Linked DNA regions of Homo sapiens: region 1 is linked to region 2. Evidence: promoter capture Hi-C in 16 types of primary human blood cells and fetal thymus (Javierre and others, 2016). All regions are on one chromosome and are shown on one strand. The core of a region is centred on a gene start or on the middle of the fragment in contact, and the rest is flanking DNA. Distances in the headings are between cores, read along the strand shown.

Region 1 (3,928 bases), core at 501-3,000, 5.4 Mb before region 2:
AAGATATATGTTGACAAAAATGAATACGTAAGTAAAAACCACCCATTTCTTTCCTTAAGGCAACAAGATTATAAATTTTATTCCTTTCCACTTCCCACAATTTGAATTTCTCTTTTGAGTTACTCTTTATGAATGACTCCATTGGCACCCAACAGCTCCATTCAGGACCTTCCCCAAGAAAGCTTCCAGGTAAACAGAAAAACAACGAATGTTAGCTCCCTAAAACAATAACAAGATGGAGACAAAACACTGGATTCTGTTTTTCTACATTCAAAACACAGAATCAGTACACAAAATCAGAAATACACCCAGAGCCTCAGACAAAACCCATAAACCTTCCTAAGGAATCTTGTTTAATTTTCACTTCTTGCTACCCATTTATCAAGTCTTAGGAAATGCTAAAACACGGTTCTCAGCCTCCTCTGTTCAGTGATCCAAATCTGCCACTGCTAATGCATTCAGTACCCCAGATCTGAAACTGTTTTGTGAACAGAAATACTTAGCAGCAGCAGATATGGGCTATGCCAACATTAACCTTGTCCCTAAAACAAAGTGACAAACCACTCCTAGCCTCACCCTCAAGGGAGGGTAAGCAGTAACGACTCCTCCAGGAGTAAGGCCAGGAAGCCAGGTTTATCATTAACACTCATCAGCTCAAGCCCAAGGTTTAGCCGCTGCACCTCCACCACCAGGGAGCCGTGCGGGGCGGGCAGAGGGGTGAATGAGGCGGGCGGGCGGGCGGGGCGTAGGGTAGGCCCGGGAAAGGCGGGGCCGCACTGCCGGGTCCCCCACCGCCCGGCACCGCCCCCAGCCCCGCCCCCAGCCACCCGGGCTCCGCGGCAGCTCTGCAGTCCCCGCGCGATTGCAGCGCGCGCCCGGGACCCCTTCCCGCAGCCGCCTCCCCCTTGCTGCGCGACCCCCAGCACTTACCTGCTTTGCAAACCGGGGCGCTGGGGCTCCTCTTCTCCGGCGAGCTTCGGCTCTGCTCCGGAGACCTCCTCCGATGCCGGACGCGGGCTGGGGGTGGGGCCGCGCTCACCTCGCCGGTCCACAGGTGGGTGGGCGACGAGCTGGGCGACGACACGGTGCCCAGCAGCGGCGGCGGCGGCGGCGGCCGTGGGGGGCTCCCGCGAGCTCCAGGCGCGGCGCTGCGCGTGGGGCTGGTGCCTCGCGTGGACGTCGCGGACGCGCCCGTCTGCGTGGCCACCGTGGGGCTGGTGCGCGCGGCCGCGTTCCCGCCGCCGCGCGTGGGGCTGGTGCTGCGCGAGGCGGTGCGCGGGCCACCGCCGCCGCCGCCGCCTGCGGGGCCTGAGGCGCCACCACAGCAGCCACCGTTGTTGTTGCCGCCGCCGCCGCCGCCGCTCCGCGTGGGGCTGCCATGTTGCTGCTGCTGCTGCTGCTTCAGCTGGAACGGAACCGTCGCCCTCATGGGCTGCAAGCGGCTCCCGGGTCCCCCGGCCGTGGCCACCGCACCACCCCCAAGGGAGCCGGCCGGCGTGGGGGACCCATTGCGCCTCACCCGCTGGGACATGGTCCCCCCCCTCCCCGGTGACTGGGCGAGACGGGGGGTTTTGTTGTTGTTGGGCTGCAGGGGGAGGATTCTCGAGGCCGGAGGGCAGGCCCCCCAAGACGGGGTGACGAAGCCGGACTCCGGGGTGCAGGGGGAGACCGGGCCGGGGCAGGCAGCAACGAGGTGGTGCAGCCGCCGCCGCCGCCGCCGCCGCTCCTCATCAACAATAGTGTCTCCTCTGCTGCCCCCGCCCCCCACGATCGCCCATTGGTGCAGCGTCAGCCGCGCTCGAGCCGCTCCACTGCTCCCATTGGCTACGAGCAGCTCGGGTCCCGGGCCCCCGAGGCCTTGAGAGCCTGGGTGTGCGCGGAGACCGTCTGCTCTTTAAAGAGAAAGAGACCCGCCCCCCGCGGGGAGGGAGCGGAGGAAATGGGCCCTGTGTGTATGTGTAGTGTGCGCGCGTGTGTGTGTACACGTGAGTGCCCGTGTACGCGCGCGCCTAGCCACGCGCGCCTTTCCTTTCCCGCCGGGGGGAGCCCTGGGGACTCAGACTCTGGAAGGTTGCCAAAGGAAATGTCCAGACCCGGAGCAGTTCCCAGGGATGGTCTGAAGCCTTTTCCGCATAACTCATTTCCTTACCCCAGTGTTCACTTGTGTTCACCTGTACGCGCATCTCGTTCGGGCTTTTATTCTTAATGTTTTTGTTCTGCCCTAATTCCATCTACCTATGGGCAGGGCTCAAAAGGAGAAGAAATTTAACTAATCTTACTGGCATTTTACGCCCCTCTCCTTTTATTTTTTAGAGCTCTACAAAGAGGCAAATCTCAGAAAGATTAAACTTGCCTGTTAGAATGCGATTTTAGATAGTATCTATAGAGTTCAGTTACCACATGTTATTCCTACCCTCCTGTATCTCAAGTAATCAAGACTATTTTAATCAGCTGCTTCGCTGTTCCCTGATACCTTGGAAGGATGGCTGCTACCTTACCAGTTTGTAAAGTGCTATAGTTTACAGAGGGCCTTATTTGATTCTACACGATCATTGTTTGAGACAGAACTGGGACAGCCATCCATATTTTTGTCTAGCGGAGGAAACAAGTCTTTGGTGTGGCAAAGACTCGGGAAGGCAGGCAGTGACACTATTTCTAAAATGACCTAAAGGGCTCCTCATCAAGAAAATAAAAAATGGTGGAGCCAAAACCTACACTCCCACCTGTCTGGCTATAAATTGCCTATCCATGACCTCTTTTCCCTCTACTATTTTTATTAGTTGTACATGCTAGACAGATTTCGTCGTGTAAAAATGTGGGAGTGGAGGGCATAGTATGATTCACTCTGGACCTGAAATCCTACTGGGTCCCTTTGCGCGGTGGTGGAAGGCCTTTTTTTTTTTTTTTTGAGAAGAAGTCTCTCTCTGTCACCTAGGCTGGAGTGCAGTGGCGGAGTGCACTGGCTCGAATCTCGGCTCAGTGCAACCTCCGCCTCCCGCGTTCAAGCAATTCTCCTGCCTCCGCCTCCCAAGTAGCTGGGATTACAGGCGCGTGCCGCCACGCCCCGTAATTTTTCTGTTTTTAGTAAAGAGGCGGTTTCACCATGTTGGCCAGGGTGGTCTTGATCTCTTGATCTCATGATCCGCCCACCTCGGCCTCCAAAAATGCTGGAATTACAGGCGTGAGGTGGAAGGCTTTTAAAGACCTAGAGAGGAGGCCGGGTGTGGTGGCTCATGCCTGTAATCCCAGCACTTTGAGAGGCTGAGGCGGGCGGATCACCTGAGGTCGGGAGTTCGAGACCAGCTTGACCAACATGGAGGAAACCCCGTCTCTACTAAAAATACAAAATTAGCCGGGCGTGGTGGCACATGCCTGTAATCTCAGCTACTCGGGAGGCTGAGGCAGGAGAATCGCTTGAACCCGGGAGGCAGAGGTTGGAAGGAGCCGAGATCGTTCCATTGCACTCCAGCCTGGGCAACAAGAGCGAAACTCTGTCTTAAAAAAAAAAAAAATTAAAAAAAAAAGACCTAGAGAGGAAATTAAAATCCCATGACCACCACTTACTCTGTGACCTTGAGTGGATCACTAGCCAGTCTCCTTATCTGTAAAATGCAGTTAAACAGTACCATGTGCTTCATACTGTTGTTATGATTATTAACCAAGGATGATATGAGAATGTGGTGTGTAGAAGATGGTCAGCACTTCCAGAGTCTCCATGTGATTCAGAGACCCACATCTCTCCTTACCATCCATTCCCCTTTCTCCTCCTCTCTCCCCCTCCACAGAGAAAGCCCCAGCCCCTTAGCCCAGGAACCTGCCTTAAGTTGGCTGGTGCTCTGGATAGATCTGACGTCACTATCTGGCCCCTACAGCCTGGTGTGAGGCCAAAAACAGCTTCTCACTGGATAGGAACATACAGGAAACTGCC
Region 2 (4,170 bases), core at 230-2,729:
TGTATTGTTGCAACAGGAAACCTACTAAGATTAAAATCCAGCAAACATAAGACAAAGATAAAATGCACAGGGGTTTTGATGCATTAGGTGTTTCCCATAGTACTTCCTATTTTTCAAACTTCGTGTGATTAAAAAAGTAAGTTTTATCCCTGACTAAATTTCAGTGTGGAAATAAAGAAATAAAGATAGCATGTACTTGGCTTAGGTATACTTGTTTTGTTCTTTCAGCTCGTTACGTAAAGATACATTTTTTTTTCTTTCTCATGACATGAAGATAAGCTTTCTTCTTACCAAAACCTAAACTGTGAAGGCAGCACCCAAGCCAAAAGCCTCGAGGCTCTGGTTTCTGTGGTGGGATGGGGAGAGAAGTAGGTTGCACAGATGTAGGATGCCAGCTGACTTCAGAACTTCCGGTCTCAGAGCTAACCAGGCTCGGCAAGCCACAAGAGAGAAGGAGCTTGCATAGGTGGAAGAGCAAAGAAAGCCAGTGCTGCAGAACTTCCGGTGCTCCTCCGCCGATGTCGGGCTGGCGCTGCTCCCGAGCCCTGTGTCCTGTGGAAGAAGTTGGTGAGAATCGTTTTGAATGTAGGCAGCCACTCCTGAGGAGGCTAGCCCTTGCTACATTAAAGGTGGAGCTAGATTTACATTTTATTTTATTTTATTTTATTTTTTATTTTTCGAGATGGAGTCTTGCTGTCGCCCAGGCTGGAGTGCAGTAGCACGATTTCAGCTCACTGCAACCTCCACCTCCCGGGCTCAAGCGATTCACCTGCTTCAGCCTCCCGAGTAGCTGGGATTACAGGGGCACGCCACCATGCCTGGCTAATTTTTTGTATTTTTAGTAGAGACGGGGTTTCACCATGTTGGCCAGGCTGGTCTCAAACTCCTGGCCTCAGGTGATCCACCTGCCTCGGCCTCCCAAAGTGCTGGGATTACAGACGTGAGCCACCATGCCCGGTCAAATTTACCTTTTAGATTCACATATTACCACCAGAAGAATGCTTCCTCTGACAACTGAGCGGTACTCCATCCCCAGAGCCCTTTGTGCAGACTATTATTGCAGTTTCCTAACTTGTTATGACACTCCAGCCTTTTCCTCCAGGTCATCATACAATCCATTTTTAGAGTGATTGTTCTAAAGCACAAATCTTAGGTCACTCCCCTGCTCAAAAACCACCCACTGCTCCCCCAGTTCCACAGAAGAGAGCTCAAATTTCTTAGCTTGGTATTCAAGACCTTCCATGATAGGATCCCTGTCTACTACTCAGCTTACCTCACTTCTCCCCTCCTCCAGCCAAATGAAACTGTTCCCTGTGTATGTTCAGGCTCCCTAGCTTCTGCTCACAGCCTTCTGAATATGAAGAAGGGAAAGTCCCTTACCATTCCATCCGTCTCTACCTGTTTAAATCCTCCCCAGTCTTCAATATTCATTTCAGAGGCTGCGTCTTTCAGGAGGCCAGGTACAATTTCTCTCCCTTCTCCATGCACTTCTCCTGCGGCCTGTGCCTTACATTCTAGCTGTGCGTATTTGTATACTTCCTGTTACACCTTGGTAACCTCATCAAGGGAGAGACTGACTCTGACATTCCAGTGTCTGAATTTCTTTCTTTCTTTTTCTTTTTCTGTGTTTCTTTCTTTCTTTTTTTTTTTTTTTTTTTTTGAGACAGGATTTCACTCTGTCACCCAGGCTGGAGTGCAATGGTGTGAGCATGGCTCACTGCAGCCTCAATTTCCTGGGCTCAGTTGGTTCTCCCACCTCAGCCTCCCGAGTCGCTGGGACTACAGGTGTGCGCCACCGTGCCCAGCTAATTTTTGCATTTTTAGTGGAGATGTGGTTTCACCATGTGTCTAGGCTGGTCTGGAACTCCTGGATTCAAGTGATCCGCCTGCCTTGGTCTCCCAAAGTGTTGGGATTACAAGCATGAGCTACTGCGCCCGGCCTCCAGTGTCTGAATTTCTTATGCTCAGTAAATGTCTTATGCTTAATACATCTTTGTTGAATTGAATGTGGTTATCTGAAATGTACCAAATTAAGTTTTAGAAAACATATCTTTTATCCCCTGTTGGAGGGGGTAGTGTGTAAAGAAATAAAGGAGCTACGCACTGGGTTGGTGTCTGTGAAAGGAAATATGATATGACTTCTTTTTTTTTGCAGAATTTCCCATTTTCCCATTTTATATTATCGAATGTTTTCCAGTCTCTTAGGCTCCTCTCTCTTCCTGCTGCCTTATCCTTTCCCTTTGACATCTGTCACTGGATGTCCTTACCATGATTTTGGATGGGGAAATGAGAAGATGCTTCCTGAAAGACTACACTGAGGGGATTCTCTAATAGATTTTCATTCCATGTGACTTTTTCTGGCTGGGGAGGGAGTAGGGGACCTTCCAGTCATCTCAGGCAGAAACTAATTCAGGTCCTGATCAACCCACTGCCTTAAATTTTAGAATGGTTGCTATAACAATTTTAGAATGGTTGCTATAACAAGATGCCTTAGGAAAAAAAAAATTGACAATGGCCAGAACAGGAAGGTGACTCCGTTTTACACATGTCCCTAGTCCCTCACCTGTGGAGAGGTGGTGAGAGTTTAACTGCTTGCTGTCTTTCCAAGAATGCACGTGGAATTCAAAGAAAAGAACAGTAGAAGGGAAGGAGAGGGTTTAAAGGAAAATTGTCATGGGCTTTGGAAAGACCTGATTGTGTAAAAATTGCTTGCTGGTGTTTGGAAAGAACCCAGGTGCTAACAGATTTTAGACAAACCCAATCTGGAGTTGCCTAAATCATGAATGATTTAATGTGACTGAGTTAATCCATATATCTTGTATACAGTAGTTCCAGCCTCCTCAAATGTAGCAGGAGATTGCCACCTTTCTGAGAGTACCTTTCATTTCTACATGCTGATTTTGTTGTTGTTTTTAAAGGACACTTGAATTGCTTTATTTAGCTTCCAATTTGTGAGATTCTCAAAAATTAAAATTACTCATGACCACAAGAAGATACTTCTGTAGTTATGGATCATTTTCTGCTATTTTTTATAAGGAATACTTTTTTATTGTTGTCTTTTTTATAAGTGATGCACATACCAGGTAGTAATAAAAAGTCATGTTTTCCAGTGCACCCTAAAACTGAACTGCTGTCTCTATTTGAACAGACAAATAAATTATACTGAATATACCTACAACCCTGAAAATCATCTTCTGGCCATTTTTCTTTTTTCCCCACAAAGATCACTAAAGTGGTTTATATTGATTAACATTATTAAATCCACCTCTCATGTTTGCAACTACATGAATTCAATATGCAGTAAGATACAGTTATACAAAGAATGTAACCCAAGCCAAGATGAGAAATAAAACCTCTATACCAATTTTTCAAAACAGGAAACTGTTGCAGAAGTATATATAGTTGTTCTTTTTGTTTCACTAAAATTACATGGATTTAAATGTTCTGTATGAACTAACCTCCTGGATCCATTGTCCTTTTTGCCCAAATTAGCTTTCTTTAAAAGTTAACTCCCCAACACAATTTAATTATCTTAGCTAAAGTTTAGGTTTGATCTCAAGCCATTTGAAACTAGACAGAGTGAAAAAATCTGTGGGTAGTTGGCAGCAGATCCTGATAGAAATATGGCACTTGGCAAAGGCTGTCTGCCTTGTTTTGATTTGCCTTTCTCTTTATGGATGTGGCCTATTTTTGAAATGTTATGATTTAAATTCAGCGATCAAGTGACAAGTCTGACAAAACAGAGCTTACATCCGCAGAGGTTCTGTGGGGGAAAAAATGGAAATGTTCCAGAACTAAAGGAAGTAACCTCAGTTTCACCTGGAAACATTAGTGTTTCGGAGGCAAGGGATTTGGGCTATATATAAAGAGTGAAGGAAAGTGGCCAAGATGCTGGGCCAAAATTGCATCCAGGAATAGAGCAGACATTAAAGAACCAAAAACTATATCTGTTGTTTTCACCGTATCCCTGTAAGTAGCACCTGGGGAGACTGTGATTAAAAAAAAGATGGGAAAGTTCTTTCCTGTGATGGCTTGGATTGTAGCAACAGCCTTCTAACTGGGCCTCTAACTCCAATCTCTCCTTCTCCAGTACTCAGTGTACACTTTGGCCAGATTAAATTCTTGGGAAAACTCTATTCCTTTCTCCTGCTCATGACCCCCATTCCTGTT

Evidence for each region. The method cuts DNA at HindIII sites, captures the fragments that hold promoters and counts their contacts. A CHiCAGO score of 5 or more calls a contact.
Region 1: a contact is called between the fragment with the promoter of FAM117B here and the fragment with the promoter of ANKRD44-AS1 in region 2, in 1 of 17 cell types (naive CD8 T cells). The highest score is 6.5, in naive CD8 T cells.

Annotation. Positions count from the first base shown.
Region 1 is chr2:202,632,791-202,636,718 of GRCh38, reverse strand. It overlaps FAM117B (family with sequence similarity 117 member B), which reads right to left and starts at 1,750. Exons shown (of 8, transcript NM_173511.4): 1 at 931-1,750. The coding sequence starts at 1,531. RefSeq lists silencers at 703-1,142, 1,243-1,292, 1,483-1,712. The HindIII fragment of the contact is 4,588 bases long and covers 185-3,928 here.
Region 2 is chr2:197,195,300-197,199,469 of GRCh38, reverse strand. ANKRD44-AS1 (ANKRD44 antisense RNA 1) reads right to left here and starts at 1,479. Exons shown (of 2, transcript NR_135584.1): 1 at 1,381-1,479; 2 at 197-552. The region is part of intron 1 of ANKRD44 (ankyrin repeat domain 44); the gene reads left to right. RefSeq lists an enhancer at 364-433. The HindIII fragment of the contact is 4,177 bases long and covers 282-4,170 here.